Regions from separate parts of the Homo sapiens genome. Here all the other regions are linked to region 3. The links are contacts of gene promoters, found by promoter capture Hi-C in blood cells and fetal thymus (Javierre and others, 2016). All regions are on one chromosome and are shown on one strand. Each heading gives the region's core, a stretch centred on a gene start or on the middle of the fragment in contact. The rest is flanking DNA. Distances are from core to core; before and after follow the strand shown. Region 1 has its middle 4.0 kb from the start of MBOAT4. Region 2 overlaps ESCO2 (establishment of sister chromatid cohesion N-acetyltransferase 2). Region 3 holds the start of INTS9 (integrator complex subunit 9).

Region 1 (2,700 bases), core at 122-2,621, 1.3 Mb before region 3:
AGATGGGAACCCGATTTCGGGAAACACCCTGAGGGGCCCATCCCGGCCCCATTCCAAACCAGGGCATTTGTGGCTCAGGCCATTCCCTCACCCCGTACAATGTCTGTCCCCTGCCACAGCCGGTAGTGCCGCAGTAGATTTATGCTGCACAAAAGCTGTGAGCCTTCTGACTGGGTAACCCCTGCAAAACGCCCCAACAGGAGTCTGTGGACCCTTGCCAGCAGCGATGATAGGATTACTTTTAGGAAGGTCTAGTTTAAATTTAAAAGGGGTACAAGTACAAACAGGAGTCATTGATTCAGATTACAATGGGGAAATTCAAATTGTTATATCTACTTCCGTTCCCTGGAAAGCAGAGCCAGGAGAACTCAGAGCACAGCTCCCGATTGTGCCGTATGTGGGAATGGGGAAAAATGAAATTAAATGAACAGGAGGATTTGGAAGCACGAATAAGCAAGGCAAAGCAGCTTATTGGATAAATCAAATTACTGATAAATGTCCTACCTGTGAAATAACTATTCAGGGAAAGAAATTTAAAGGTTTGGTAGATATAGGAGCGGACATTTCAATCATTTCTCTACACACTGGCCATCCGCGTGGCCAATTCAACCCACTCAATTTAACATAGTTGGAGTTGGTAAAGCCCCTGAAGTATATCAAAGTAGTTATATTTTGCATTGAGAAGGGCCCGATGGACAACCTGGGACTATTCAACCAATTATAACTTCTGTACCTATAAGTGTATGGGGAATAGATTTGTTACAGCAATGGGGAGCACAAGTTCTAATTCCTGAACAATTATATAGCCCTCAAAGTCAACATATAATGCATGAAATGGGGTATGTCCCTGGTATGGGACTAGGAAAAAGTTTGCAAGGTTTAAAGGAACCGCTTCAAGTGGAAAGACAAAGTTCCCACCAAGGTTTAGGATATCATTTTTGATGGTGGCCATTGTTAAGCCTCCAGAATCTGTACATTTAAAATGGTTAACAGAGTAGCCAATTTGGATAAAACAATGGCCGCTAAGTAGAGAAACTTGAGGCTTTAGAGGAATTCGTTACTGAACAATTAGAAAACGGGCGCATAGCTCCAATATTTTCCAGTTTTCGTAATTAAGAAAAAATCAGGTAAATGGAGAATGTTAACTGACTTAAGAGCCATTAATTCAGTTATACAACCTTAAAATAATAACTTGGGGTAGACGTTATGCTTGTGTTTCTCCAGGACCAAATCAACAGCCGATTTGGATACCATCAAGACACCTGAAAACTTATCATGAACTAGATGCTGAGGAAGAGATTCTGGGAGGATCCTGAGGACCCCCCAATTACAGCCACGTTGAGAGTGATGCTGAGGAGGACCCCAATTGTCACGAGCAACACCCATCAAACACAGCCACCCACCTGAGGACAGATCAAGAAGCTGTCACAGATGGCAGAAGAAAACTTGAGAAAAGCGGGACAACCAGTCACAATGAGTAATTTAATGGTAGCTATGATGTGGTGATCACCATTGCCGTAAGTATTCCTTCAACAAGGGCTGACACAAAGAACAATTATACTTATTGGGCATATTTATCAATCTTGGCTGGCAATAATGCCTGGATGTAATCAGTCTATGACACAGTTACACATGCTTTCTGACCTCAGTATTTACCATAATAAATCTGCTCCTATAACTGAGGCATACCACCCTCAAAAACCTATTTGTAAACAGAATTGGACCTGGCCAGAATTAATGGACGTACTTGTTTGGGAAGATTGCATTGCAGAACAGGCAGAGGTGCTGTGCAACGATTCCTATGGAATCATTATTAATTCGTCCCCAAGGGGATGTTTAGCTTGAATTGCACCTCTCAGTCTGCATGCCATGGCCACACTATATTCAGCTGGTCTGAACAAAACAGTCAGATGGTAGAAACGGTAAGAAGTATGGCAAGAGTTCCTATTATCTGGAACCATGGTGGTATAGTGGCACCTCAACCTCAAATGATACGTCCCACTGTAGGAGCTAAACATAAGGATTTGTGGAAACAATTAATAGCTCTTAATAAGATCAAAATTTGGGAAAGAATAAAAAAGCATCTAGAAGGACACTGTACAAACTTGTCTTTGGATATCACAAAATTAAAAGAACAAATATTTAAAGCATCCCAGGCACACCTGACATTAATGCCAGGAACTGGAGTGCTTGAAGGAGCTGCAGACAGATTAGCAGCTAGTAACCCATTAAAATGGATAAAAACACTTGGATGCTCTGTGATTTCAATGATGATTGTGCTTTTAATCTGTGTTGTTTGTCTTTGTGTAGTCTGCAGATGCATATCCTGACTCCTGTGAGAAGTAGCTCACTGTGACAAAGCTGCCTTTGCTTGTATTGTTTTGTAAATCAAAGAAGGGGGACATGTTGGGAATAGGCCCCCAAAATCTGGCCATAAACTGGCCATAAACAAAATATCTGTAGCACTATGACATGTTCGTGATGGCCATGATGCCCACACTGGAAGGTTGTGGTTTTACTGGAATGAGGGCAAAGAACACCTGGCCCACCCAGGGCGGAAAACTGCTTAAAGGCATTCTTAAACCACAAACAATAGCATGAGCGATCTGTGCCTTTAGGACATGCTCCTGCTGCAGATAACGAGCCAGAGCCCATCCTTTTATTTCGGCCCATCCCTTTATTTCCCATAAGGAATACTTT
Region 2 (2,700 bases), core at 160-2,659, 1.1 Mb after region 3:
TCTGATGAAGGATATAAACAGGAGGTCAGCAACAGAAGTTCTAGACCAGCATGGTCTAATATGGTAGCCACCAGCTACATGTAACTATTGAGAACTTAAAATGTGGCTGGGCCAGGTGCAGTGGTTCACACCCATAATCCCAGCAATTTGGGAGGGTGAGGCAGGTGGATCACTATAGCCCAGCAGTGCGAGACCAGCCTGGGCAACATGGTGAAACCCCAGCCTCTACAAAAAATGCAAGAATTAGCCGGGTGAGGTGGTGTGCATCTATAGTACCAGCTACTTGGGAGGCTGAGGTGGGATTGCTTGAGCCTAGGAGGTTGAGGCTGTAGTGAGCAGTGTGCCACTGCACTACAGCCTGGGTCATAAAGAAAGACCCTGTCTTAAAATAAATAAATAAATAAACTCCTTACAGTAACTAAACACTATGCTATCTGGCTTTATAAAAGCAGTCCAGAAAATAAAATTTTATTCAACTATGTCATTTATACTGAAGTTTTGTTATACAGCCATTTTTAAAGTGATATATTTAGCTTTACCTTTATTAATTTCTCTTTATTTTTACTGCTTGCACTCAGTAGTCCAATTTTCAATTTCTCTTCTAGGACCAAGCACTTTGGCACTTGCCTTGTCGCAAAAGTTTTTTTTTCACTGACAGTCTCTACATCAGAATCTTCAATGACTTCTGATTTACTCTTTTGGGTGCGTCCCAGTGACGGCTCATTTTCCAGGGACGATTTTCTAAGAGAAGATTTTTTTCTAACAAAAAATGCTGCTCCACCCTGGAGTGTAACTTGTGGTTTTATTTTTTGGCTCAGAACCCGAGGAGCATTGGAATTATTTTCAGCTGAATGACAATTATTTTCCTTCTCCACAATTGGCTTATAGATCACTCGATTTTGCTTGGAATTTCTAGAATTCCTTGATACAGGCTTGATGTGTCTATACTTTGGTTGATACTTAGCAGTTAAACTCTTCTGTGGTTTTTTGTTGTTCTTCTTGGAGCAGACTGGTTTTCCTTGCATTTTTTCTGTCACAATGGGAAAAGATTTATCTTCATCATTAGTTTTTAGACAAGTAGATCTACTCTCTTTTATCAGCTTTCTCTCCAGTGGATTGAGGTACCACTTATTTTGGTTGTAAAAAGATACAGTGGAGAGCGCAGATTTAAATGGTGAGCCTTGATTTGCTGATGGCAGTCTATTTATTTCAGTTGTTTTGAGCGCACTTAAAACAAAATGCTCTTGTTGAGAGCAATGCAGGTTTTCTTCATTTTTATCACTGTTTTGATAAAAACAGTGCTTTTTATTAGGTGATGGAAACAGATTTTCAGTGAAGTGTAAAAGGCTATAAAAAGAAACAAAGTCCATTGATAAGATTATTTTGCGTCAAAATTTACATAAATCTACTGCTAAGTAAGCTCTACTTGTAGGTCATATTAAAAACAATACATGTACCCCCCATACACACAATTTTCTATTAGTTTAACAGTAGGATTCTCAAATTCTGTCTTTATCAAATAAAACATTCAAATATCTTCCCAAAGAGTTCATGAAAACAAATACTATATACAAAGAAGCTATGATAGACATATATGCATGTATGTTTTAAAATCGATTTCTATGTGTTGGCCATATATAAATTATAGCTCATATATTTTGCTCTATTGTTTACAAGCCCCCTATAATAACTGTCTGTAATGAACTGACCCCCTGGGGCTTTTCCTGGGTAGAGTAATTAATATCTGAGTACACAGTCTTTCTAGAATTGTTTCCAGACAAGCATCTACTGTATGCAAAACACTGTAAAATATTATAGGGGAACAGAAAGGAAAAAGGTAATAGCTGATTTGGTATATTTCCTAGCTATAGAAAACAGCTTTCTTCAATGTGCTGCTTCTATGTCAAAAGAAAAAAACAAAAACTAAAAAACAGCTTTGATTCCCTTGAAAAGGACTAAATAATTCATTATGAAAACTTAATGTATTTCCAAGCTAGAATTAGAATATAGGTTATCAGGTTATCACTGTAGCCACAAGGAGTAGGCTAGTGGAAGAACGAAAATTTTAGAAAATAGGAGAGAACAAGAGAGACAAGAAGGTGGATTTTTCTAAGAGTTTCTATTCACAGGCTGAGATTCACCTGTCACACTTCAAAGAATCCTGCTTCCTCTTCCTTGGAGTAAGAGCTGCCATTTTCTTTATTGAATTCCTAAAAGAAATGACAATAACCACATTCATCAAAATATTAAAAATCGCTTTATCAAAATTATACCCCCTTTAATTAGTCTATTTCACACCAAGTTAAAACCCTATTTTCTGGGAGGTCTTCCTCGACATTGCTCTCCTTCCACCCCTCCAAGGGTTACACGCGCTTGTTCTGCTTCCATGGCACCCTGTATTTCCCTAATAGTCCATTTAAGACATTTTCTTGTTTCCCCATCTCAACAGCCTTCAATGAAGGCAGAGACCGTCTGTAACTTTTCATCAGAGCCCAGCAAGAAAACGGGTGAAGCACAGTCCTCTGCCATTTTCCTAGCTGATGAGCCCGGAGCAAGCCGTTTGCTTCCCTTTTTATAAAAATCTCTTGAAGTCGTAAGGCTGCTGAAAACAAATGCTAGAATGCACGAGCAGGCGGCTACGTGGCTCGTCAGAATTCATTTCCTTCCCCTTCCCTGGGATCAGGGAAATTCCCCCCAAAG
Region 3 (2,700 bases), core at 73-2,572:
CGTCCAGGGGAGGGGGCGGAGGCGAGTGGCAGAGTGTGAGCGGGCGACGGGACACAAGCGAGTTGTTGAGCCCGGCCGCCTCGCACCACGTCGCCAGCCCAAACGCCCAGCACCAGGACCTCACGCCCGCCCCTCAGCCCAGGCCCAGAGCGAGCGAGGACTCGCGCTGTCTAACTTCCCATCTACAGACACCGCTCCAAGACGAGCAGAGCACACAAGTACACGTCACACAGTTTAAACACACTTACACACCCCAAACAAACCAACACACCTGCAAATCACCTCACAGTTTCCAGAACTCCACACCGGAGACCCCACCTCCAGGATTCAAACCTTCCGCTCATCGTAGAGGAAACCAGAAGAGTTGGGGGGCAGTCGACGCCTTTCCAGGACCGGACCCCACGAACTGCCCCACCCCACAGCCCGCGTCTGGGTCACCCACTCGGAAGCCCCCTGCTTCCTCCCTCCTCTCAATCCGGCCGCTTACGAGACCCATCCCCAGCGTCCGCTCACTTCCTCCCCAAAACCCCTCCAAAAAAATTGTTTTAAGTGAAGAGAAAGAAGTGAGGAAAGAGACTTGAGGTAGTCCGGCTTCAAAACCGCTCGACTCACCTCAGAATCCTCGCTGAGTTCTCTCCGCCCGGCACAGCCCCCTCCCCAACGTCCCAGTACGAAGGGCTGAGATAGGGAGGAGGGAAGGCGGGAGGGGGAGGGGTGTCTTCCGCGTGGGGCGCCCGTCGGGAGGGGACTGGGGAGGGGTTGAGGCCGGCGCAGGAAGAGGAGAAGGGGGAGGGGAGGCCCCTATCTCCCAGTCTCCCCCTGAAAAACCTCCCTTGTCTCAATCACATCAGACTGACTGTCTTTGTCTGGCTGACAACCGCCATATTGATATCAACAGCCCCTCTCCCACCTGCTGCCGCCGGGCGTCCCTGGGAGTTGTAGTTCCTGCCTCCCCTGAGAAAAATTGCGGAGCCCGGCGCCTAGAGGGCCAAGGGAACTACAACTTCCGGCAAGCCCCGTGCCCATCCGCCTTCCCTTTGGGAGGAGGGAAAGGGGAGTCGGAGCCGTCGGGACTACACATCCCAGAACACCATGGGCCCCAGGCCCGTAAGGAAGACATGATATCATGCTGGGGTGGAGAGGGAGGATGCATTGGCGGCTGGGATGAATTTGAGCTGACGGAAGGAGGCGTTCGGAGAGGAAAGGGAGGAAAAGGAAAGGCGACCACAGTTCCCATGATGCCTGGAGGGGAGACTACATTTCCCATTATTCCCCTGGAAGGGACGTGAGGATGAAAGACTGCAAGTCCCGCGATGCTCTCGGCTGGCAGGTGGCGGAGATTGCACCGGAAGACGCTTCCTGGGTTTGAGGAGTTCAGTGACTGCTATTGAACCACCAAAAGTCCATTATGAAACTGGTGAGTCTTCGCTCCTAGGTCAGAGGGCAAAGGTGATGCTATAACCTTTTGGACCTCTTTTTTTCCTACGTTGGGCAGGGAATCGTCGCACGGGAGGGGTAGCAATTATTGAGCTGGAAAGTGGAGTGGGCTAAGGAAAGCTGCTTTTTGTTGTTGAGAAGGTTTGAATTCCCTCTCCCCCACCCCATCCCTCCCAGGAGGTCTTTTTTCACTCGTTAGTGGGTCTTTTTGTTCAGACAAGAGGTTGACTGTCACAGTCCTTCGCCCATGAACTCTGTGGGCTCTGTTAACCAGGTTTGGACGTCCTGGTTCCCACGTGAGGGTTATAATAGGCTGTTAACAATCCGTTTCCATTCGATTGGCGCTTGAGTATCCTGTCTCCCTACTGTTGTTGAGACTGGCTAGATTTAAGCAGACAGTAAAAAACATCCAGCAGAACGTAATCACTTATTAAATATCCTGTTATATAGACTCCTCACTGCCCTTGGAATTCAGGACGAGGTCAGAGTGTGGAGAAGTTGAGTCTTAAACCCTGCATGGGATTTAGATGGGCAGAGAAGTGTTATATGGTATTCCATTCTAAGACTGTAGGGACTTCATGAGCCAAGGCTGAATGAAGCGTGCTCGGTATACCTGAAGTCTTAACATCACACAGCTCAAGCACCTGGTTCATGGAGGCTCCTCAGACCTTTGATTTGAGCCATTTGACTCATTGTGCACACAAGTCTAACTAGTTTATTCCAACTCGATTCAATTAGTTAATAACATAGTGTAGAAAGGCAGGTGTGAAACACTGTTTCTCAACCTTTTAAAACCCATATTTGTGCAGCCAAGTTATTGTCAAGCTTTACTTGAGGCAGGAGAATCGCTTGAACCCGGGAGGCAGAGGTTGCAGTAAGCCAAGATCGCGCCACTGCACTCCAGCCTTGCAACAGCGCGAGACTCTGTCTCAAAAAAAAAAAAAGTTTATTTTTTACCATTTATATAATTATCTGAACATGCTTTGCCAAACCACACAACACACCTACCCTCATCTTGATAATCATTGTGCTACAGGCATATATTCTGCAAAGCCAGCTGTTTTCTGCGAAGTCAGAGAAAGTATTAAAAGTGGATTCAATTCCGAAATTGTCCCCGTATAAATCTGTTTATATAAGGGGAAGGATGCGGGTCACTAAACCTTGAGAATAGCAACTTACCCCTGGGTCAGTGTGTTACACATTTAATAATGCAGAATTAAAAGTCATAGCCGTTGCCCTACAGAAGCATGCAACCTAAGAAGA

Evidence for each region. Contacts are between HindIII fragments. The CHiCAGO score rates a contact against its expected background, and 5 or more counts as called.
Region 1: a fragment that was not itself captured here is called in contact with the fragment with the promoter of INTS9 in region 3 in 1 of 17 cell types (fetal thymus); the score reaches 5.1 in fetal thymus.
Region 2: a contact is called between a fragment that was not itself captured here and the fragment with the promoter of INTS9 in region 3, in 1 of 17 cell types (non-activated CD4 T cells). The highest score is 8.4, in non-activated CD4 T cells.

What each region holds. Positions count from the first base shown.
Region 1 is chr8:30,147,277-30,149,976 of GRCh38, reverse strand. No RefSeq gene overlaps it. Among named protein-coding and RNA genes, the nearest start is that of MBOAT4, 4.0 kb to the right of the region's middle. The HindIII fragment of the contact is 4,047 bases long and covers 1-2,700 here.
Region 2 is chr8:27,775,009-27,777,708 of GRCh38, reverse strand. ESCO2 (establishment of sister chromatid cohesion N-acetyltransferase 2) reads right to left here. Exons shown (of 11, transcript NM_001017420.3): 2 at 2,142-2,210; 3 at 540-1,347. The coding sequence starts at 2,194. Among named protein-coding and RNA genes, the nearest start is that of ESCO2, 1.8 kb to the right of the region's middle. The HindIII fragment of the contact is 4,359 bases long and covers 1-2,700 here.
Region 3 is chr8:28,888,591-28,891,290 of GRCh38, reverse strand. INTS9 (integrator complex subunit 9) reads left to right here and starts at 1,322. Exons shown (of 17, transcript NM_018250.4): 1 at 1,322-1,417. The coding sequence starts at 1,409. It overlaps HMBOX1 (homeobox containing 1), which reads right to left and starts at 896. Exons shown (of 10, transcript NM_001135726.3): 1 at 613-896. RefSeq lists a silencer at 654-773 and enhancers at 426-982, 1,144-1,343, 983-1,539. The HindIII fragment of the contact is 2,854 bases long and covers 1-2,264 here.